Linked DNA regions of Homo sapiens: region 1 is linked to region 2. The links are contacts of gene promoters, found by promoter capture Hi-C in human tissues and cell types (Jung and others, 2019). All regions are on one chromosome and are shown on one strand. Each heading gives the region's core, a stretch centred on a gene start or on the middle of the fragment in contact. The rest is flanking DNA. Distances are from core to core; before and after follow the strand shown.

Region 1 (2,700 bases), core at 133-2,632, 1.3 Mb after region 2:
GGGAAAGTGGATGAAGGGAAATGGGATCTCTGTATTATTTCCTACATCTACATGTGAATCTACAATTATCCCAAAATAAAAAAATTCCAAAAATTATCATTCTGAAAACTCTAATGAAATGAGTGTAGGTGATGATCATAAAGCGGTGTTAAAACCATCAGGTAAGACTGACGGGGAACTTCAGCATGGGTACATCTGGGGCTGACAACACCTGAACTTCATAATCAACATTAGTGAATGAATCGAGCCTCCAGATCTCATTCCCAGTTTATCAGCTATGACAGGGTATGGAAGAACATGTTAAATGACACCACAAGGAGGCCATCAGCCAAGTTCAGATGGTGGAAAATTGTACTGGAAAAATGACTCGATTTCTTCAACAAATGGCATGAGAAATAAAGAAAAGAGAGGAAGGCTATATATTAAAAGAGACTTAAAAGAGCTAATCTCAACGGATGCAACATTTAGTCTTTGTATGGATCCTAATTTGTATAATATTAGATGATATTAGGAATTAATGTTAATTCTGTTTATATGATATTATGGTTGTGTTTTTAAGTCCTTATCTTAAAAGACTGAGGAATATACAGGTGAAATGATGACCTGTATTTGCTTTCAAATACCCTAGCAGAGGAAAAACAATTATAGAAGCGTAGATTAAAAAAAGAATAGTAGAGACCAAGCATGGTGGCCCACGCCTGTAATCCCAGCACTTAGGAGGCCGAGGCAGGAGGATCACTTAAGCGCAGGAGTTCAAGACCAGCCTGGGCAACATATCGAGACCTCATCTCTCCAAAAATAATTTTTTAATTAGCTGAGTGCAATGACCTCAGCTAATTAACCTTTTTATCTTGAAATAATTGTAGATTCACATGTAGATTTGGGAAATAATACAGCGCTCCCATTTCCCTTCATCCACTTTCCCCCACTTGGCCACATCTTGCTTGAGTATAGTCGATTTTACAGCCAGGAAATTGACATTGATACAAGCAATGGACATCTATAATCCTAGCTACTTGGGAGGCTGAGGCAGAAAGATCACTTGAGCCAGAAGTTTGAGGCTGCAGTGAGCTATGTACTGTGCTCCACACCACTACTCTCCAGCCTGGGAAACAGGACAAGGCTCTGTCTCAAAAAAAAAAAAAAAAAAAAAAAATACTAGACCATTGTTAACTGTTGAAGTTGGTTATGTATGAAATCTCATATACTATTCCATTTGTAAATGCTTGACATTTTTCATAATAAAAACATTTTGCAAGAAGACTATAAGTGCGCAAAGGTGTACATTCAAAGATTTTCTTTCACTGAAATGTTTCTAACAGTTAACAAAATTAGAATCCACTTAAATGTCCAACAGTAAAGAAATGGTTAAGTAAATTATGCCACACAGTAAAACAAAATACCCTGCAGCCATTAAAGGGTGATATGGATGTATGGATACCAACTTTGAAAGATGGCCATGACATACCAGTGAGTAAAAAAACAACTTAGGCTGGGCACAGTGGCTCACGCCTGTAATCCCAGCACTTTGGGAGGTCAAGGCGGGTGGATCACCTGAGGTTAGGAGTTAGAGACCAGCCTGACCAACATGGTGAAACCCTGTCTCTACTAAAAGTACAAAATTAGCCAGGCGTGGTGGTGCGCGCCTGTAATCCCAGCTACTCGGGAGGCTGAGGAAGGAGATTCGCTTGAACCGGGGAGGCAGAGGTTGCAGTAAGCCAAGATTGTGCCACTGTACTCCAGCCTGGAAGACAAGAGTGGAACTCTGTCTTAAAAAAAAAAAGAAAAGAAGTTAAAGGGCTCGGTGCCGTGGCTCACACTTGTAATGCCAGCACTTTGGAAGCCCAAGGTGGGCAGGTTGTTTGAGTCCAGGAGTTCAACAGACCAGCCTGGGCAACATGGTGAAACCCCATCTCTACTAAAAATACAAAAGTTAGCCCGGCATGGTGGCGTAAGCCTGTAGTTGCGGGGCTGAGGTGGGAGGATCGCTTCAGCCTGGGAGGCAGAGGTTGCCAAGAGCCAAGATTGCACCACTGCACTCCAGCCTGGGAGACAAAGCCAGACCCTGGTCTCAAAAAAACAAAACAAAACAAAAATTAGAAAATTGCCTGTGTACAGTATCACTGCATGTTTGTAATGTAGGTGTGTTACATGTGAACATAAGCATGGAGAGATGTCCAGAAAAGCCTTTACCAAAACATTAACAGTGGCTGTCTCTGAGGGGCAGAAATCCAAGAGACTGTTACTTGTTTTATATACTTTTTAATATTGTTTGATGTTTTACCAATCATGTGTTTTTAAATTAAGCTATTTCCAGTATACTTGTATTTTCACTTTTCTGATATATGTGTATGCATCAACAATAAGTTATTTTTAAAACTCAGCTATTTCCATTTGTTTTTAAGAAGGAAGAGACAACAGAACAAAGCAAACAATACCAAACTTACAGAGTACTGGAAAGGAGGGAAAGGCTAGGAACTTAGTTATACTCCTGCTATGTACCAAGGAACACCAAATAAATCCAAACAGCATTCGGAGGCACCAGAAGCAGGTCACACGCCCAGAGGAGTCTGAACTTGTCCCGCTGCCTCTTCAGTGGTATACGTCAACATCAAAATCTGCTTTTAACATATCCCTCCAGCTACAATGACAGCTCACAGTTCCCCACACCCACCACGCTGTTGCCAAGCCTCTACCACA
Region 2 (2,700 bases), core at 109-2,608:
ATCCATCTTATCGTTTATCAGTTCAAAGTAAATGAAAGGAGTTTACCATCTGACAGTCCTTTGGAAAACTATTATGCAATTACTCTCGGCCCAGATTTCATCTAGAACATTCAAGTCCATTGTAATCTTACCACATCCATACACGTTTTGGGTTAAGCCACCTCCAAATGGAATAGCTCAATAACTAATACACTCAAGAGAGATTATTTTTTCTCTCTTTTTAAAAAGAGTTGCTTAAAAAAAACAAATTCAGGGGGCAGCTCACGCCTGTAATCCCAGCACTTTGGGAGGATGAGGCGGGCGAATCACGAGGTCAGGAGTTTGAGACCAGCCTGGCCAATATGATGAAACTCCATCTCTACTAAAAATACAAAAAGTAGGCAGACATGGTGGCATGTACCTGTAGTCCCAGCTACTGGGGAGGCTGAGGCAGAAGAATCACTTGAACCCGGGAGGCAGAGGTTGCAGTGAGCCGAGATCATGCCAGTGCACTCCAGCCTGGGTGACAGAGAGAGACTCCGTCTCAAATAAATAAATAAATAAAAATAAATAAAAATTCAGAATAGGGAAGCAACTCCTCCTTATGACGAGTACCTTTCGGCACTTATATGGGCTTGCTTTTGCATTGATGGCACCACTTTCATTCAAAAAAAAAAGTTCGCTTGCACAATCTGCAAAGATCTGTTTGGCTTGGTTTCATGTTCTAAAAGTATGGTTTTAGATTAAATGAAAAATAATACTTCTGAAAAATAAGCGGTTATAAGGTTTTTAAGTTTTCTTTATGTTGGTGTAAACTTATAAAGCCCTTCCTATGAAAACTGTCCCCCAAATCACATTACTTGGTCGTCCTCGAGGAACGATTTTGAATGAAAAGCACATAAAGTGCTGTAGCATGGAGACGAGAGACAAATAACTATGCCCTTCTCCCAAAATAAGTTATGACTTACTAGGGGAGGAAAAGGAGCAAAGAGTATAAAGCCCGGTCCTCTGCGGGAAGTACCCGGAGGCCTGCCCCGGAACGCGCTCCTTTCGGCTACGAGATGAGGGGCACGCAGACGGACGCGCCCCTCGGTGAGTGTGCGTGTATCAGTGCATGATTCCTTTACTCCGCCCACAGGGTCTGGGCATCCGTCATTACCTACGGCTGCCTGGTCAGCAAACAACAGCAGATCCGACAACCGCCAGTCACCTCGACGGTCCACGCCCACCGCTAGCCTCCAGTTTCCCGCAGACCGGAAGCCCTTTTGCCCCGGCTCGCAGGTCCACGTCTTATTGACAGCAGGAACCGGAAGCTCTTCTGCCCCGATCGCCTGCGCGCGGCCTCGTTGGCCGCACAGGCGCAGTGGAGCTCGGGCGGAGTTGTGGGAGTGGAGGAGGAAGAGGCGGTAGGGGGTACGGGGGCTGGTCCCAGAAGATGGCGGAGGCGGGGGTGAGTTGGGGGTCTCCCGGCGAAGCGCGGGTGACGTGGTGCTGAGGAAAGCGGCCTGAGGAGGAGGGTGGCCCTTGGGAAGAAGAACTACTTGTGTTTTTGCAGCCTGGGAACCCTGGTGGCAGGTGCGGGGAGCCAGGACCACTGATGGGCCTGCAGGGCAAGGGGCTCCGCTTACCTGAGAGGGGTCCGCAAGGTCCAGAAGGGGACTGCGGGATCGGGGAGGGGGTATAGGAGGGGTCGAGGCTCCCCGGACAGTGGATGAGTGTCTGAGCGGGAAGAAGGCTGGAGGACGGCGAGAAGGGCGACCCAATGGTCTGATGAGGTGGAGGTCAGCGAGCTGTCAAGCATAGAGCTGCCAGGACTTGGGGGCTTGTAGCCTGGGAGAGAAGACTCAGACTTGGGCGGGGATTGGATCCAAAGAAGACAGGTTGTCGTAGTAAGTTTATAATCCACTAAGGAGATAGGGCATTGGGTTGAGGAGTAATACTCTGGCATTTTTGACTGGAATTGGTTACCTATGGAATAGGTGTTTCGGTAAAGCCAAATAATTCTTGCCAGGGCCTAGAAGTGGATTTGATGATAATTACTAGATTTTAGGGTTGCTTAGTGGGGATTGGCAATATGGAGAAGGAAAGCAGTGTGGATTATGGGAGTGGGCGCGGGCAATGGCGCTAACACTTAAGTGATAATGACCCATGTCCAGTTAACGTTGGAAAAAGTTGTTAAAGTATGATATTAGCTAGATGCTCTAGGAAAATATACCATGAAGAACTTGCTGTTTTGTAGGATTGATGAAGAAATGCTTTAAAAAGGAATGGTTAGGCTTGGCAGCTGGGCCACTGAAACTGTTTGGTATCAGTATTGCGGTGGAGCTGAGGACTGCAGGGGAATGCGTGCTCCCGTCCTGGTGCAGAAAAAATAAAAGCAGCCAGACAGTAGCTAGATGGTGTTTTGTAACTTTTGGGTTTGGCCCTGATAGTGAACCACTGAATGAAGATGGATGAAGGGAATGCTACTAATGGGGGCCCCAAAGAAAACAAAAATCAGACGTGTGCTCTTCCTGTTTTCTGTCTTTCATTCTTTCCCTGTACTTTGTGCTCAGTACTGTGTTTTGTCATTGTGTTATGTCGTAGTTCTCAGTTCACATCTGCTGTACAGTGACCAAGCTGTGAATCATGTCCACTCGGGAAAGAGGTTGATTCTGTTTAACTGACAACTGTTGCTTTTGCAGATGGTCACACGGAAAAGGAAAGAATAAAATGCAGTTC

The links. Contacts are between HindIII fragments. The study calls those that stand out against the background at their distance.
Region 1: a fragment that was not itself captured here is called in contact with the fragment with the promoter of INSIG2 in region 2 in 1 of the 25 tissues and cell types used here (spleen).

Annotation. Positions count from the first base shown.
Region 1 is chr2:119,346,915-119,349,614 of GRCh38, forward strand. The region is part of intron 1 of C2orf76 (chromosome 2 open reading frame 76); the gene reads right to left. Among named protein-coding and RNA genes, the nearest start is that of C2orf76, 19 kb to the right of the region's middle. The HindIII fragment of the contact is 5,326 bases long and covers 1-2,700 here.
Region 2 is chr2:118,087,113-118,089,812 of GRCh38, forward strand. It overlaps INSIG2 (insulin induced gene 2), which reads left to right and starts at 1,359. Exons shown (of 6, transcript NM_016133.4): 1 at 1,359-1,429. LOC107985940 (a long non-coding RNA gene) reads right to left here and starts at 1,319. Exons shown (of 3, transcript XR_001739662.3): 1 at 1,139-1,319. RefSeq lists enhancers at 1,064-1,113, 1,124-1,313. The HindIII fragment of the contact is 12,719 bases long and covers 1-2,700 here.